Regions from separate parts of the Homo sapiens genome. Here region 2 is linked to region 1. Evidence: promoter capture Hi-C in human tissues and cell types (Jung and others, 2019). All regions are on one chromosome and are shown on one strand. The core of a region is centred on a gene start or on the middle of the fragment in contact, and the rest is flanking DNA. Distances in the headings are between cores, read along the strand shown.

Region 1 (4,227 bases), core at 659-3,158:
AAAAAAAAAAAAAAAAAAGATGGCTCAGAAGAGCCTACCTAAAAGTTGGTTAAGGGGAGAATGTCTGCATCCCTCCTAGGCCCAGGCTGGAGGCTTTCTAAACATATTCGTATTTGTCAGGATCTCCAAAAGTAGGCCCCAGAATGGGACCCAACTGACCCAGGCATAGTGGGACCAGCACAGATTGGACAGTCTTTCCCCTCTGGGCTTCTTGGCTCCTATCGGGCAACTCAAAGTGAGAATTTGGGGTCAGCAGTCCTAGTGCTGCCAGTGACTCACTGAATAACCTCCAGCAAGGCACTTAACCTCTCTGAGCCTCCCTATGCTTATTTAAATTTGAGAATGGTAATTCAGTCTGTCCACAAGGCAGGCTTGTTGAGAGAATGGAATAAAGCACTGTTACTTGAGGAGACGCTTTGTCAGCCTGAGTGAGCAGCTGTACATGTTGTTATTTAAAGAAAAAAATTCTGCTTTCAACCGTGTTCCAAAAAAAACTACTGCAAAGGCTAGGTGTAGTGGTTCATGCCTATAGTACCAACACTTTAGGAGGCTGAGGCAGGAAGATCACTTACGCCCAGGAGTTTGAGACCAGCCTGGTCAACATGGTGAAACCTTGTCTCTACTAAAAATACAAAAATTAGTTGGGCGTGGTGGTGGGTGCCTGTAATCCCAGCTACTTGAGAGGCTGAGGCAGGAGAATCCATTGAACCCGGGAGGCGGAGGTTGCGGTAGGGAGAGACCGCGCCACTGCATTCCAGCCTGGGCGACAGAGCGAGACTCCGTCTCAAAAAACAAAAAACAAACAAGCAAACAAAAAAAAGGCAACGATTGCACAGATTTTCATCAGGTTAACAGAGTGTTTGTGATGGTTTGACTTGAAATATAAGCTATGTTGCTTACATGAAGTTCCCTTTAAAGGGGCTCCAGGGCTCACCTCAAAGGATAAGGAGAGATCATTTAAAATAGCCGACAAGGGTACAACGAATGAGTCTCCCATGATCCGGAGACCCGCTCTGCTCACTGAGATTACTAACCATGGTCAGAGAAAACAAACAATTGCAGATACGAGACATAATTTTTTTTGAGACGGAGTCTCGCTCTGTCGCCCAGGCTGGAGTGCAGTGGCGCGATCACGGCTCACTGCAAGCTCCGCCTCCGAGGTTCATGCCATTCTCCTGGCTCAGCCCGGAGTAGCTGGGACTACGGGCGCCCACCACCACGCCCGGCTAATTTTTTGTATATTTAGTAGAGACGGGGTTTCACCGTGTTAGCCAGGATGGTCTCGATCTCCTGACCTCGTGATCCGCCCGCCTCGGCCTCCCAAAGTGCTGGGATTACAGGCGTGAGCCACCGCGCCCGGCCCGAGTCATAATGTTTTTAATCGTAGAGGCTGATGGTCAATTGAGTTCTTCCCACGTGGACAATTCCGTGAAGCCTGCTCTGACGTTAGGAGCAGCAGCGATTTCTCTTTAAAGCTGGTTAATGATTCCCTCCCGTAACTCCGGGTGGCCAGCTTGTACTTAAATAATTGTAAAAATGCGGACTGAGGTGGCATGCCTTTTTGGCCCTTTGCACACGGCTGGCCTATGTCGTTTATTAATTGGGAGGCAGTGTCATTGTGTAAATCCCCTTATTCCTAGCGGGGTCACGGTCTGAGTTTGAACGCGCCCCTCCGCAAGCATCTGTCACGGGCCAGATTAAAGACTACATTTCCCAAAGGCCCTCGCGGATCCCACCCTTCTCCCTCCCTTTCCGGTTTTACACATAGGCCCCGCCCCCAACGCGCGTGTCGGCCAATAGCGGCCCCACCTCTCGCGCCCGGCAAAAATAGGACGCGGGCGGGAACGTTTCGGGGTCCGCGGGGGCGGGGCCTGTGGCCAGGGGTTGGTCTTTGGAATCGGAGAGGCAGATTCGCTGCTCCGCAGCACGGCCGGAGCTGGTCGGGTCAAGAGTCGGGATTTGTGGGGAGAGGTTTTCCACTGGTCAAGAGAAGGCTTTAAGAAAGACGGTATTAATCTCCCGTTGCGGCTCCCGCCTGGTCCCATCTTCTGCCCGCTCCTCCAGGAAATGAATCTGCTGCCGAATATTGAGAGTCCAGTGACTCGGCAGGAGAAGATGGCGACCGTGTGGGATGAGGCCGAGGTGGGCACCGGGCGAGCTGGCGGTCCGGGAACCGGGGCCCGCAGGGAGACGCCATTGACAAGAGGGAAGGAGGTGGCTGGGGGTCAAGGTCTGGCCCGATCCCGGGGACGGGGTTGTTTGGGATGTGGGCAGGGGTCCTGACTCCATCCTGGTTTTATGGGCGTGGAAACTGAGGCTGTGAGTGGGTTCGGAGAACGAGGGATGCTTGTCCTGAGTAAAAGTAAATATATAAATAAACAAATAATTTTTTACAGCAAGATGGAATTGGGGAGGAGGTGCTCAAGATGTCCACGGAGGAGATCATCCAGCGCACACGGCTGCTGGACAGTGAGATCAAGGTGGGCGCACAGCTCCTGTGCGGGCGATGGAGCCCCCACAGGACAGGCCCCGGCGATCCGAGTCGCCTCTCGTACTTCCTAATCGGGCACCCTGGGGGAGACATGGGGCTCGGGCTTCCCCCTCATATCAGGAAGAGAGGAAAGAAAACTAAGCCTTAAAAGGGACAAGAAGACAGGTAGGGGGTGGTGGGAGGCCTGGGCTGAGATGAGAAGTTATCAGATTGCCTTTCCCAGTGAGAACTGGGAATAATCCTCTCAAGAATCCTTCTTTTAGTAAAATGCCTATTTTACAGATGAGGAGACAGGCCCAGAGAGGTTTGTACTGCGATAAAGCACCCAGTTCTTACTATGAGGCAGAACCTAAAACCTATGTTTGCCTCTCTCGGAGGCCTGCTTTTATTCCAATACTACCACTATTTCACCAGGAGGTTTCCAAACTGGCCTCCTCTTTTGACTTCTGCAGGATGTGGACACAGTCAGACTCTGCCTTCAGAGAGCCTCAGAGCTGGATGAATGGATGCGGGAGGGTCCCCTGGGCACCCTGGACCTCACTAGTTACAGGGCTCTAGCATAAGCTGTGCCAGGGTTTATATTTGCTTCTCCTCCCCTCCTGATCTCAGATCATGAAGAGTGAAGTGTTGAGAGTCACCCATGAGCTCCAAGCCATGAAGGACAAGATAAAAGAGAACAGTGAGAAAATCAAAGTGAACAAGACCCTGCCGTACCTTGTCTCCAACGTCATCGAGGTGTGTGTGTATGTGGAGGGGAAGAGAGGGAGTCAGCAGGGAATGGGGACAGCCTGGGGTGGGGCCACTAGGGAAAGAGTGGGTGGAGGTATTGAGGCCAAACTGCATGTCAGAGCTACACCTCCTGGGGCACTTTCATGGGGAAGACGGGGCCTGCAAAGTCCTGGGAGGTCTCACGTGTCTCCTTTTCTGTTGGTTATGTCTCCTCCGGGGTAGATGAGCCCTGTGCAGAGGAGCAGCACCTACACAGAGATCAATCCCTGGGCTTAGCAGGGGCACCCACGTTTGGTGGGCTCAGGGCTATTGGAGGAGGGAGGTAAGGATGGCCAGCCCTGCAGGTATTAGGAACTGTCTTAGGAAGCACTGGGCCTTGGGGAGTTCAAGGAGCTGAGTATTTTTTCCTTCCCAGCTCCTGGATGTTGATCCTAATGACCAAGAGGAGGATGGTGCCAATATTGACCTGGACTCCCAGAGGAAGGGCAAGTGTGCTGTGATCAAAACCTCTACACGACAGGTGAGCGTGGCTCAGCAATGAGAGACTGGAGGAGGGTGAGGAGCGGATGTGGGACAGGACTAGGGAGCCTTCCCTGAGGACACTAACTGAGACTGCCCCTGTAACTTGTCCACAGACGTACTTCCTTCCTGTGATTGGGTTGGTGGATGCTGAAAAGCTAAAGCCAGGAGACCTGGTGGTGAGTGGGGCCTGAGCCCAGGCAGTGCTTTTCTGGTGACTAGCTGAGCCCCTGTACCCGCCCCAGGTCACTGTTGGCTCTGAATCTTGGCAGAACAGCTCCGAGAGTCTGGGATTCTGTCTACTTGCTGTTTGATTCTTGTATTGCCCAGTCCTGTGTCTTTCCCTCTGCAGACACCTGTCACCCAGTCAGTTGGGTAGCCCTTGAGCTGGGCCAAATCTGAAGGCCCTGTGCTGTGTCCTTAGGGTGTGAACAAAGACTCCTATCTGATCCTGGAGACGCTGCCCACAGAGTATGACTCGCGGGTGA
Region 2 (4,227 bases), core at 622-3,121, 350 kb before region 1:
CTTTACTATCTGTAGTTATACAACTAAATATTGACACTCTAGGAATCTCTAGTCTCCTGTTTATAAAATAGGAATTTCATCTTTCTCTATCAAAATAATATGGCATTAGTTAGGATTCAGTGGAGAGAGATAAACAAAATGGTATTGTGTGTGTGCCGGGACTGTGTTAAGTCTCTACAAGCATTTTTTTATTTAATCCTTATAGCAGCCTTATGAAGGAATGTTTTAATTTTCTATTTTTTAACCCATGAGGGAACAGGCTCAGAGGTTATCACAGGCTCATACAGATGGCAAATATAATAGAAGAGCCAGGTCTAAATAGGTGTAGTTAACTACAGCTTCAACCCTCATGAAATCAGCCAGGTGCAATAGCTCACACCTGTAATCCTAGCACTTTCGGAGGTCAAGGTGTGAGGATCGTTTAAACCCAGAGGTTAAGACCAGCCTTGGCAACATAGTGAGAACCTTTATCTACAAAAAATAGAAAAAAATTAGCTGGTCATGGTGGTGCGTGCCTATAGTCCCAGCTATGTGGGAAGCTGAGGTGGGAGGATCACATGAGCCCTGGAGGTTGAGGGTACAGTGAGCTATGATCATGCCACTACACTCCAGCCTGAGTGACAGAGTGAGACCCTGTCTGAAAAAAAAAAGAAAGTTGACATGAAATTATTTTTTATTTTTATTTTTTTATTTTTTCCAAGACGGAGTCTCGCTCTGTCGCCCAGGCTTGAGTGCAGTGGCATGATCTCGGCTCACTGTAACCTCCGCCTCCCGGGTTCAAGCAATTCTTCAGCCTCAGCCTCCCGAGCAGCTGGGACTACATCTGTGCCACCACACCTGGCTAATTTTTGTATTTTTAGTAGAGACGGGGTTTCACCATATTGGCCAGGCTGGTCTCGAACTCCTGACCTTGTGATCCGCCCACCTCGGCCTCCCAAAACGTTGGAATTACAGGCCCAGCCGACATGAATTTTTAAATATATTTAACCGAAAAAAATGACAAGTTTCCCAGTTGGAGAAAAGAGGGTTCCCATTGTGTGCATGCACATGTATACACACAGTTTCTTGTGGTTGGGGGAAAAAATGCATTTTATTTTGCCGGGCACAGTGGCTCACTTTCGGAGGCCAAGGCAGGTGGATCACTTGAGGCCAGGAGTTTGAGACCAGCCTGTCCAACATGGTGAAACCCCATCTCTACTAAAAATAAACATAAAAAAATTAGCTAGGCATGGTGGTGCACATCTGTAGTCCAGCTACTCAAGAGGCTGAGGCACAAGAATTGCTTGAGCCCAGGAGGCGGAGGTTGCAGTGAGCTGAGATTGTGCCACTGCACTCAGCCTGGGCGACAGAACAAGACCATCTCAAAAAAAAAAAAAAAAAGGGTATTTTATTCTACAGAGTCCTATGAAAGCAACTACCCAGAAGAAATGGTACACTTTGCAGACTGTTTTCAAATAAACATTTTCCTTTTAGTTTCCACTGTCCGCAACAGCCCCAATGGTGTGGCTTCCATACTCCTCTATTGATCAGCTTCTCCAAGCTCTGGGAGAGAACAGTGCCAACAGTCACAACATCGCAGTAAGTCAGCCCTTTCATGAGACGTCTTGTGTAAGCCCCTGCACTAGCAGTTACACCTTACAGCTTGATCTTCAGTTCTCCGGGATTAGAAAGGGAAGACAAAAGCCTATTTTTGGCCCTTAACAAACTGCCCAGTCCCTTTATAGATAAGGCAGAGGATCTAAGTAACAGGATCAAGAAAACATAATGAGGAACTGTGTAAGTGTTAATTATACAGAGACAAATGGCAAGCAGTCGGTCCATCCTTTAAAGCTTTTAATTTGGTAGGGCAGACCCTACAAGGTAAACAGGTACTTGAAATACAGCAATGATAGGCCGGGCGCAGTGGCTCACGCCTATAATCCCAGCACTTTGGAAGGCTGAGACGGGCAGATTACCTGAGAGGTCAGGAGTTCGAGATCAGCTTTGCCAACATGGTGAAATTCCATCTCTACTAAATATACCAAAACTAGCCAGGCATGGTGGCGGGCACCTGTAATCCCAGCTACTCGGGAGGCTGAGGCAGGAGAATCGCTTGAACCCAGGAGGCGGAGGTTCCAGTGAGCCAAGATTGCACCACCGCACTCCATCCTAGACAGCAGAGTGAGACTCCATTCCCCCACCCTGAAAAAGAAAGAAATACAGTGTGATAAATTATCACTGTCCTGAGGGAAGTTGGCATATATAACAACATTTCTCAGGAGTCATATATTCACCCTGCTTGCCTTAACATAAAAAACAATAGTGTTTCCTTGAGTCATTATAGTGATGGCTTATTTTGTTTACCAGTGAGATAGAGTGCCTCCTGAGCCTATCTAAAATATTAGTTCTATATTTCACTTGGCAGCTAATAACTAGTTATATCAGATGCAGCATTTCTGGTTCTGAGAAAAGAGTTAGTGATCCTTTTATTAGAAATACTGGTACGATTTCCATACTTAGAAAATTCATTCAGAAAATGAGACTGAAATGTTGTATATAACAGAGAGGCCTAGTTTTATCAGTAGAGTCACAGAGGAGACTCCTATAACAAATGGTGATTTTATGAAGCAGAGTGGCTAACATCTTTATAAGGTGGAATCTACTTGGTGAAGTCAAAGTTATTAATAACTTCAATATTTTTCCATTGTTGAGCTGTTATGTAATGTTTTCCTTCTTTTCTCTTATAGCTGTCCCAGAAAATACTTGACAAATTGGAGGACTACCAGCAAAAAGTTGATAAGGCAACACGGGATTTATTATATCGTCGGACCTTGTGATTTGGATTGTCACCTAGCCTTTGTAACCGCTTGGTGCCTCTTAGGACTTAAGACTACCCTACAGGAACCCTGTACTCAAGGCCGATTTTTGTAACTGTAAATGATGTGTACAACATTCAAGTCTGCATTCTGCACAAGATAGGAGGGCGGAAGAGTCAGAGGACCCTGTGCTTGCTGGTGGTGCTAACACAATTTCTGGTGTTCAACCTTGGTCTCAAATAGCTGCTTTTGTATATGATTCACGAGCTTTTTTAGAGTTTATATTTTTTTAAACTACCGAAGACATTCATTATCTGCAAATTAAGACTCACCTTCACTTTCCAAAATAGCTGAGGGTTGTTGGCTTGTTGTAGCTGACCACCAAAAGCAGTCACTGCAAATCTTTTAATTCTTCCCTATCACCTTTTGTATTTTAATGCAATTATTTTGGTCCAGAACTGACCTGTATTTTCTGTATTGTACACAAAAGCTAATAATTTTGTGTACTTTTTATTTATTTTGGAGGTTTTATATGATCTTCAATTGAGTATTAAATAATTTGCCTAGATTAAGCCTAAAATGATGACCAGCTAATTAAAGAAGATATTTTGAATCTGGTTCTGAGCTAAAGTTGAGTAAATTCTTAGCTAAGAAAAAATTGGAAATCCATCATCTATATTAGCAACAGATTCTCAGAGTAAATTGTTAACTTCTATGATTTATGATAATCAAGCTGGACTTGATCATACAAGTTAGTCTCATAATGTATTGGACCAAAATGTAAACTTCATTGGTCAGATTTAGAAGCATTCATGCTCACAAGTTTTGGGAAAGTGAAAAATAATAAAATCATCTTGGATTTTATTCTGTATATTAAAATTTATCTTTTAAGGAAACAATCTGTATACTACTTGCTTGTATAGCCTTTTGACCCTTCTTGAGTTTTTCAGAAGCCTTTAATTTTTATACTTTCAATACCATATTTACATTATATACTTTAATTAACAATGTGAGTTTCTCTGTGGTACTGTTGTTGATAGATACTGAGGTGTGTGTTTCTTTTTTTTTTTTTTTTTTTTTTTTCATTTTAGCTCTACTATGATTAATACGAGGCATTTGGTGCAATTAGGGACTGGGAGAGCCCCTGTCCTCCCAGCTCTCTAAACCTGTGGCTTTCAACGACAGTAAGAAAGACATTTTGACCTACATACACATATATAACCAAAAGAAAAGTTTCACAAAATTTGTATCCTCACCTACAGTGTATCCTGATGTTTTCATGAGTGACTAATGGATCATAACCCATAGTATGAAAACATCAAGGGCCAGGCGTGGTGGCTAACTCCTATAATCTCAGCACTTTGGGAAGCTGAGGCAGGCGGATCACTTGAGATCAGGAGTTCAAGACCAACGTGGCAAAACCACATCTTTC

Evidence for each region. Contacts are between HindIII fragments. The study calls those that stand out against the background at their distance.
Region 2: a contact is called between a fragment that was not itself captured here and the fragment with the promoter of PSMC3 in region 1, in 1 of the 25 tissues and cell types used here (spleen).

Annotation. Positions count from the first base shown.
Region 1 is chr11:47,424,120-47,428,346 of GRCh38, reverse strand. It overlaps PSMC3 (proteasome 26S subunit, ATPase 3), which reads left to right and starts at 1,908. Exons shown (of 12, transcript NM_002804.5): 1 at 1,908-2,142; 2 at 2,397-2,480; 3 at 3,101-3,226; 4 at 3,636-3,740; 5 at 3,856-3,918; 6 at 4,164-4,227. The coding sequence starts at 2,068. RefSeq lists silencers at 1,670-1,799, 2,070-2,281 and an enhancer at 1,900-2,099. The HindIII fragment of the contact is 16,812 bases long and covers 1-4,227 here.
Region 2 is chr11:47,777,694-47,781,920 of GRCh38, reverse strand. NUP160 (nucleoporin 160) reads left to right here. Exons shown (of 36, transcript NM_015231.3): 35 at 1,474-1,578; 36 at 2,727-3,803. The coding sequence ends at 2,816. Among named protein-coding and RNA genes, the nearest start is that of FNBP4, 12 kb to the right of the region's middle. The HindIII fragment of the contact is 4,077 bases long and covers 1-3,909 here.